Linked DNA regions of Homo sapiens: regions 2 and 3 are each linked to region 1. Evidence: promoter capture Hi-C in human tissues and cell types (Jung and others, 2019). All regions are on one chromosome and are shown on one strand. Each heading gives the region's core, a stretch centred on a gene start or on the middle of the fragment in contact. The rest is flanking DNA. Distances are from core to core; before and after follow the strand shown. Region 1 holds the start of PCDH17 (protocadherin 17). Region 2 has its middle 820 kb from the start of LINC00374. Region 3 has its middle 650 kb from the start of LINC00374.

What was found. Contacts are between HindIII fragments. The study calls those that stand out against the background at their distance.
Region 2: a contact is called between a fragment that was not itself captured here and the fragment with the promoter of PCDH17 in region 1, in 1 of the 25 tissues and cell types used here (lymphoblastoid cells).
Region 3: a contact is called between a fragment that was not itself captured here and the fragment with the promoter of PCDH17 in region 1, in 1 of the 25 tissues and cell types used here (lymphoblastoid cells).

Annotation. Positions count from the first base shown.
Region 1 is chr13:57,630,337-57,633,414 of GRCh38, reverse strand. PCDH17 (protocadherin 17) reads right to left here and starts at 1,671. Exons shown (of 4, transcript NM_001040429.3): 1 at 1-1,671. The coding sequence starts at 868. RefSeq lists an enhancer at 485-1,164. The HindIII fragment of the contact is 5,195 bases long and covers 553-3,078 here.
Region 2 is chr13:59,046,830-59,049,907 of GRCh38, reverse strand. No RefSeq gene overlaps it. Among named protein-coding and RNA genes, the nearest start is that of LINC00374, 820 kb to the right of the region's middle. The HindIII fragment of the contact is 3,009 bases long and covers 1-2,939 here.
Region 3 is chr13:58,878,069-58,881,146 of GRCh38, reverse strand. No RefSeq gene overlaps it. Among named protein-coding and RNA genes, the nearest start is that of LINC00374, 650 kb to the right of the region's middle. The HindIII fragment of the contact is 3,239 bases long and covers 1-3,078 here.

The DNA.
Region 1 (3,078 bases), core at 422-2,921:
CGCGGTCAGGCACGTAGCTGCTGAAAGAGTAGAGCACTTCACCATTGGGACCTTCATCGGCGTCGGTGGCGTTCAGATCGATGACCACTGTACCCAGCGGAGCGTTCTCGGGCAGTTCCACCAAGTAGGATGGCGCCTCGAAGACCGGGCTGTTGTCGTTGGAGTCAATCACCTTCACGTTGATCTGTACGGTGGCGGAACGTGGAGGCTCGCCACCGTCCAGGGCAGTCAGCACGAGCGTATGGTGATTCTGTTGCTCGCGGTCCAGAGCCTTCTGGATGACCAGTTCTGGGAACTTGGTGCCGTCGCCGCGGGACTTAACGTCCAGTCCAAAGAGGCCGTGATCGTCGCGCGTGAGCAGGTAGGTGCGGAGCCCATTCTCGCCGGCGTCGGGGTCATGTGCGCTGGTGAGGGGGAAGCGGGTGCCCGGAGCAGCGTTCTCCGAGATGTCCATTTCGATCTGGTCCGAGGAGAAGGAGGGCGCGTTGTCGTTGATGTCCTGGATCTCTACCTTGATCATGCAGATCTCCTTGTCGTTGGCGAACACCTCGAGGGACAGCTGGCACTTGGCATTGTGGCGGCACAGGGACTCGCGGTCGATGCGCTGCTTGGTGTAGAGGAGCCCGCTGTCTGCGTCCACGTCCAGCAGGTGCGGTGCGGAGTTCTCCAGCACCCGGTAGCTACCCGACTTGCTGCGCCCTCCGCCGCCGCGCTCTGCAGGCGGAAGCCCAGGCTGCAGTCGAGCATCCCTGCCGATGTTCCCGATCACCGTGCCGGCCCCTTGCTCCTCCGGCACGGAGTAGTTGAGGTTCTTGAGAGTGAGGGCAGGGGCCCATAGAAGAAAGCAGCAACAGATGGAAAGGTACATCCCAGACCTGTAAGGTGGGGGCAGGAGCAATCGGACTGGAGGAGCCAGAGAGGGAGTGCGCGCCAGCCTGGGGCCCTGGCGCAGCGTGCGCGCGCGACGCGAGCCACAAGTCTATGGGTCCTTTTTTCCCTCTGCACCCGAGCTGCGGCACCCGGTGGTCTCTCCTTATTCTGCTCAAGTTCCCTGAACCTGTTGATCTACAGCATCCGCACTGGGTGAGAAGCTGCGGTGCAGCAGAGCTGCAGGGGCTTGGAGCAAGGCGGTGGCTTCCTGCGGCTGGGGGTGAGCCAGGGGTTTCGTCTCTCCCGCCCGGACTTCGGGAGGCTCAAACTTGAGCGATGAGGCAGGCGATAAGAAGGAAATCTCGTCTGGGAGAGATGATAATGAGCTAAAGAATCAGTAGGTTTTCCTCGCTCCCGCTAGGGTGCTGCAAATCTACTCCCGCCCGGAGACTCCGGAATACTCTTCACATCGAGTGGGGGAGGGAGCAGGGAGGTGTGTCTCTAGGCAGATCCGAAAGTGAAATTCTTACTTGCTGCTCGCCTCCCGTGATGAAATTGATGGGGATGAAGAGCAACGAAGACAGAGTCACAGATATATTTTGAAGCTTCCCCAGCGCACCGTGAAATGTCTGCTTGCTGCGCGGGCCGGTCTGTTTTCAGGCAGTGTTTTGCTGCATTTAGAGATCTAATCTTGCATTGCTGGCTGAGGCAGCGGCGGCGGCGGACTGCATCTACCAGCCAAGCGTATTTTTTTTTTCCTCTCTCTCCTTTCCGAGCAGCCAAAGGGAGGGGAGGAAATGCAGCGTAAAGAACTAGTGTCCCGATTTGTAGTTTCCTCTCCCCACCAGGCTCCTCCCTCTCTTCCTCGGAAAAGGCTCTCCCCCGAAATCAAGAAAGCCACAGCCTGATCAGCATTTGCTGTGTGAGTCTATTGGGAGGGGGGAAGTAGAGAGATAAATCTTCGCCTCTGTTCGTAGAACACACTCTCTGATTTCTCTACGCCAAGCCAGTAGCCTCCGCTACCATCCCATCCTCTCCCCGCGAGCAAGGACTTCTCTCCAAGCAGTTTAATTCCAGTTTGCTTTTCTTCCCAGGCGAAGGGAAATCAACAGGCAACTCATGGTTGGACGTGCACATTTAAAGGAGGAGGGGGGAGGCCGAATAAAAAGGAAGGGGGAGCCTCCCTCCCAGTCCTTGCACACACACTCTCCCTGTCTCTCGCTAGAAGGGAAACAGTCTCTGCATTCACAGGGCTGGGCTGTCAAGTGCCTCTTTTCTTTCTATTCAGCATCTCCTTCCAATAGCCCTGCCTCCCAGTCCTCTTCATCTAGAAAAGAAAACCTTGGCGAGGAATAAAAGTGATGAATATTTGAAGCAAATAAAGTACGTGTTTTTTTTTTTCCTTCAATTTTCTCTTATAGTAGGAGGAGTGGGCTGGATGAAAGCAACACATCAAGGTTTGGCGTGATGCATTCTGCAGTCTCTCTTTCAGTTTTTCTGGGCGACTCAGGGAGGGCAGGGGGTGCAGAGCTGCGGCCGCGGCGGTCCAGCCAGGGGCTCCTACCCCGGGGAGCTCCCTCCGAGGGGATGTTAGACACAGGTCTGTCTACACATTATTTCGGGTTCTGGAGGCGCCTCGACATACGGGAATGACACATCCAGAAATGCAGGTGTTCCGATCTGCCGGATGAGTCAGAAGCAGCGGAACGAATCGTATTCACTCTCGCCTCATGGTCCTCCCTTCACAGACATTAGTTGCGGCTTCTTCCTAACGCTTTCTCTGACTCAGTCTATAGAAAGAAAAACCAGATTCATGTTTTTGGGGAAAAAGAAAATGCAAGAGAAAAGGATGGAGGGAAGAAGGTGAAGCTGAATCTAGCAGCACTTTTACTCTACCTCTTTCTGCCGGAGTCCGAGGTTCTGGAAAACAAGGCGTCTGCTTTGCTAGGTGTATTGGTTTATTTATTTTGTTTATTTTTTTTAAACCTTTCCTCTTGGTTAGGCGAGAGGTACCCCGAAATTTTTCAGAGTCTTGGAAAAGGAAAAACAAAATCAGGTTTCCAGTAATTGTTCCCAGCTTAGCCTCGCATCATAGTTCAAGATTTTCCTCTCAATTTTTTCTATTCACAAAGTCCAACATCGATGTGTACAGTTAATTGTGCAGTCTGTTGTGGAGGTTTTTTTTTTTTTTAATTCCTCCTTTTCTGT
Region 2 (3,078 bases), core at 186-2,685, 1.4 Mb before region 1:
TAATACCATATACAAGGATAGGAAAAAGTTAATTTCACTGCAACTCTCTTCTTTGTAGTGCAGGTTCCTTGATTTAAGATCTGAGGCACTTCAAAAGCATTGTGAATTTGGAGAAGTAATACATCAGCTAAAATCTAGAGGCTTAAGGCTTGCACTCCTTCACCCCATCAGGCTTTGTGTGATATGTAACAGAAAATGTCTTTTCATTAGTGGAGTTGATAAAGTTAAAACTTTTCTTGATTAATATTCTCTTGCGAAAATCAGTTACTGCCATGGATTTACACTGCAGATTTGCCGTAGTAGTTCTAATTTCTTTTGTGCTGAAGATTCATCTGATACATTTATTTAATAAGGATAATTGTTGTTGAAGGACTGAGTTGGTTAGTATTCCTTAGGTATCTCTGCTGGCAAATCTAAAAAATCTCTGATACTTGACAATGACCTTCAGTGATATTATAGGAATTTTTACAAGCCTCATTCAGGGAAATGGTTCAGGGAACAGGTTGTTCTATTGTTTAAGAAAATGCAATGTGTGGCAAATGTGCATGCCAGATAACTGATTAAATTCTGTCATATAACAGGAGAATTTCTAGTATTCCACCTAGTTTTTCAAATTGACAATTTATAATAAAGTTTCAGTAAGTACATTTAATTTCATATATAAATTGAGTTCATTTTATTTAGCATTGGTGGACAAAATATTTTCTGAGTAGCTTTCTTATCCATGTAAAGTAAATTAATCCTATCAAAATGCTATTAGTTGCAATAAAATAGCGAATTCAAAGATGCTCCACAAGATTAGATTCATTTCCCAAGATTTGTCATTTTTTTAACCTTCATCCTCTTCTCCCATCTCTTGTCTTCTCTCTCATTTTCTAATTGTGATCATTTCTTTCCATAGTTTCCTCTGAAAAAAGTATCCTTTTCTCAAATATGTAAAAGGAAGAATGATGAATTCCTCAAAAGAAGGGTTTTTTTTTAAAAAAAATAATCTATTGATAATATTTTTTGAAAGATAGCTAAAGCTTAGGATAAATTACCTTAAATTATTGTATTCATAATAGTCAGGCCAGAATAATGTATGCCTTAGGCAAAAAAACATGATGCCCAGCAAATTTAATTCAAATTAAGTTTGTTCTCATTGTATTGAATCAAATATAATCGATGTATTTGTTTATATTATGTTTTCAAGGAAGTTCAAATATGCCATTTTAGGGAGGAGAAAGTCTTGTCTTCACCTCCCAATTTTGTCTTGTAATTGAAGAAACAAAATTCATTAAAGAAGGAAGCTTTTTTTTTTTTTGTCTTTTCTTGAAGAGAAAGTTCTCATTTTAAATTCTTGAAGAGGTGTTTTTGGTGTTTCTTCAAAAGCTAACATCACTCCTGTGCTTATACAGCCTGCCTTCTCCTTTTCATCAGACCACCCAGGTTGTAAGTTTGTAATAAGCAAATCTCTTTTCCTTCTGAACTTCTTGACATATTATTTTTCCTCAAAAGCAGCCTATCTAAATTCACTAACTTACAGTAACCCTACCAAGCCAAGAAGCTTCTAAGTGTTCATTATTAACCCATTTTTGGATAAACAAGTTTCGAGCCCCTTTAAAAAACCCATTAAAAGCAGTGGACTCTGTCCTGAGTTAATGCATGTATGCAATTTAAATTTTTCAAATATAATTTCAGAAGCTCCATTAATCCTTAAATCCTTTTTTTAGATCCCAATAGGAATTGTCATTTCAGGCCTTTTAACATAAGAGGTTCTGGGAACTTTCTTTTGAAATATTACTCTAGAAAGAATAAGGAGGAATTAAAAGTATATTTGTTATTCATCAATTGACACCATGCCAATGACGACAATAGCTACCATTTACTGAGCACCTATTATGTGTTAAGCTTTATCTTTTTAAGGCATATTGTCTTTTTTTCATGCTGTGAACAATTTCTACAACTTGCCAGTATTATTATCCCCATTTGATAGTTGTGAGAAGTTTCAAAAACAATAATACCTTGTTTATAGTTATGCAGAATGTCTCCAGTTGCAGGTAAAAGAGAAGCTGACTAAAGCATGTATAGTAATGGCAGGATTATTTTACTCTCATGGCAACAAGTTTGTGGGTAGGTGACTGCTGGCTTTGAGCAAGAGCTTCACAACATTCAGGCTCTGAATCAGCATGCCAGGTATGCTTTTGACATTCCTCTCATGCTCAAAAAATGGTAACCTCAGCTCTAAACGAGGCACCTTAACCAAACCAGAGAAACAGGAGCTTTATCTAAGGACGACAATAATTTTCAGAATAGTTCCTTTATGTTTTTCTTATATCTCATTGGTTATAACTTGGTCATCTGTCACCTCCAAGCCAGGAGGGAAGTTGGAAAAGTTAATATTTATTTTATTCATCTTCAGTAATCCTAACCCAGCTGTGATTTTATTACTCAGGGAACATTTAGCAATGTCTGGAGTTATTGTTATTGTTATTCTTATTTTATTTTTGAGATGGAGTTTCACTCTTGTTGCGCAGGCTGGAGTGCAATGGTGCAATCTCGGCTCACCACAACCTCTGCCTCCCAGGTTCAAGCAATTCTCCTTCCTCAGCCTCCCGAGTAGCTGGGATTACAGGCATGCACCACTGTGCCCAGCTACTTTTGTATTTTTAGTAGAGACGGGGTTTCTCCATGTTGGTCAGGCTGGCCTCAAACTCCCGACCTCAGGTGATCTGCCTGCCTCGGCCTCCTAAAGTGCTGGGATTACAGATGTGAGCCACCGTATTTTTTGTTGTTGTTGTTGTCACTATTTTGAGGGTAGAAGTGCTACTGTCATTCAGCAAGTCCCGGTCAGGGATGCTGCTTAACACCCTACAATGCACAGGAATCTCCTCACCACTCTCACATCACAAATAATTTTCCTACCCCAAATGTCAAAATGCTTAGGTTAAGGAAGCCTGTTCTATAGTGAAGCATGGGCAAGAAAAAGGCTGTCAGAAATGGCCATTTTGTAGGTTTTCTGTGTCCTGTCTATGCAACATGTAAATAAAAGTTCTAACTATTGTGATAATTCTTCAATAGAGCAAGAAATATTTAAAT
Region 3 (3,078 bases), core at 356-2,855, 1.2 Mb before region 1:
ACAAATGGTTTACAGAACTCTTGTATACATCCCTTCCAAGCTTACCTACTGGAATTACAAAACAGATAGAATAAATAAAATGCTTAAAATGAGAAGTAGAGATGCAGAGATAAGAAAAGGAACAATTAAGTTAAAAGCATTCACTATATTACTTTCACATTCAGAAAGTACTTCTAAAATATGATGGTAAAACAAAAAGGCATATCTGTCTCTCAAGAACCTAAAAAGAGTAGCAATGAAAAACAAACAGCATACAATTCCTTTTCTTAAAAGCACAAATTTAAAAATGCAGAATACCTTTCACATACGCTTACAAAGATGCCTTGTGTATGCTGAGAAGACACGGTATATGGTTGACTGTGATAATCTCTTATCAAGCTATCCTCAATAAGCAAAACCATGAAAGTCCTAGAAGAATATAAATGAATCCATTGGTAGATGGGAGGTATAGGAAATCAAGACAAAGAGTTGTTTAAAGTTTCAAAGCTTTAGCATGGCACTACAAACTGAATAAAGCAGGCTGAATACACCTCCCAGAGCATTATAAAACTTCTTACAATTTAAAGCCTTTAGGCTGGGCACACTGACTCCAAGTGTCCACAGACCTCGCTATATCCTACTGCTTTACCTCTACCCAACTTCACTTTAGGTTTTTTGACTGGCCTTTGTGAAAATGGAAGATCAAATATGAGAAGGTTTGAGATTTTGGAAAAAGATAAAAAGAGAGGGTGGGAGGGAGGGTGTGAGGAAGAAAAGAAGGAAAGAATGGAAGGAAAGAGAAAAGATAAAAATAGAAAGAATGAAAGAAGAAAGGAAGACAGTGAAGAAAGAAATGGAAAATAAAACTTAAAAAGAAAGGAAAAAGAAAAAGAAAGGATGGGAGGAAGGAAGGGAAGGGAGAGAGGAAAGGAAGGAAGGGGAGGAGGAAAGAAAAATCACTTATGTGGCTCGAAATAGCATTTTATATCAAATATATAAAATATTTTATAGCAAATATCTCGGTCAGTGTTATATGAGAGAATAATTTACTTCACCCAAATTAAGCAGTACTTTAATATTATTTAAATGCATATAAATGAAAACCAATTTTAATGTACCCTCTATATGTATTTCGAACTAGCACATCCTCAAACTTGCTGTAGTAGTATAGAATACAGGGACAATGACATTTAAAGTTATTTGTTCAGAAAATTACAACTTGAAGCAGGGAATGAATGAATTCTTACATTATCATCAAAAGGAAATTTTATACCTGGAAACTAAGAATGCTGGGAAAGTGTCAAAGCATCTGAGCCATTTATTATTATTTTTTCCTTACTATGCATAAAAGTGAAGAGATTCTGATATATAAATTGGTTTCTCACAATAAAATGAGCCAAAAAGGTAAAAAGAACAAATCAAGAAAAAACGATCTATTAGAAAAATCTTTAAACTTTGTCTCTTTATTTTGGACTTGTGAAAAGGGGAAAACGTGCACACCCACCCATACATCGGTGTGTATTCACTACACACAGCACTATTTGCATTTTTCCTTATCCAATCAGGCAGTTTGTACATATTTAATATCCTTCTTTCATTTTCATGCCTATGAACAAGCAGGTACTACCAACACACATAGGAACAGGATGTCTTATGCATATACAATGTGTACCCAAAGATGAAAGTTTTGATGAAAACTTAGGAAAAAAACATTCATCTCATTGGAATACAATTTGTGAATTTTTCAGCAGTTTCATGAAAAACTGAAAACTATTTGAGAATAAATGAGCAATTTCACACAACTCTAGTTTGCTTTCTCTTGGTTCCTGTTTTGCTCTGTTATGCATGGTAGAGAATCTTATAAAAGATGCCTTATATTACTGACCCAGCTCTTTCTGAAAGTGGTTTTGTCATCATTCAAGTCCTTAAAGAATAATATGAAAGTAAAAATATGGAAGTGTTTGCACTGAGGAAAATGAAAGTTGAAAGGCATAAAGGATGGGGAACATGGAGACTTGTGGATATTGACAGACATTCAACATCTAATGAACATTGCAAAATGGAACTTCAATAAAAAGAAATAGTCTGCTTTAGTGGAAAAAGAAGAATATTAGAAAATTATTCTTAGAAGAAATAGAGCAGATTTTGAGTTACTAAAACATACAAAGGAGGATTATAGACTGTAGAATTCATAACTGAATTGGTAAAGGCATTACTTAATATAATATTTGGCCTAACACTAAAATGAAAATACATTATGTTCTAATATAACTTGAGAATATGTTCAAAATTCAATGGTAAAATAGGCTTTAGTACACCCAAAAGAATTTTTCTCTTTCAAAAGACTAGTGTTTGGATTAGTTTTTTTTTTTTCCTTTTCTTTTCTCTTTTTCCTGAGGAGTGAGAATAGTAGTTTTCAGAAGGCTTGTTTCCTCCCTTAAACATCAAAGACATTACTTTTCTGAAAAAGAATCACTGTAGATGAACCACCCCTTTTGCTTTGACTATAAAGAAAATGATAAAAGGAGAATTTTTAACCTTTGGCCCATCTTTCATTTCTTTAAATAAACAGTGATTCAGGATATGAGAATTGATTGGTATTCAGATTCTATGTTAAAATCCATGGGTATCAAGTCTGTCCCAAAGCAGTCATACAAATCAGATTGTGTTGGTTCATAAACTGATGAAGAAAAACCTCTAATCTGCCTCAGTAAGGGGAGCAAATATACTTGTACACCATTTTCAGAGGTGTGTGAACCAGAACAACTCCATTTTGAATGGGAGCTGGGTAAAATGAGGCTGAGACCTACTGGGCTGTATTCCCAGATGGTTAAGGCATTCTAAGTTGCAGGATGAGATAGGAGGTCAGCACAAGATACAGGTCTTAAAGACCTTGCTGATAAAACAGTTTGCAGTAAAGAAGCCAGCTCTAACGCATTGAAACTAAGACGGCAATGAGAGTGACCTCTGGTTGTCCTAACTACTACACTCCCATCAGTGCCACGACAGTTTATAAATGCCGTGGCAATGTCAGGAAGTTACCCTATATGGTCTAAAAAGAGGAGGCATGAATACCAACTCTTGTTTAACATATCATCA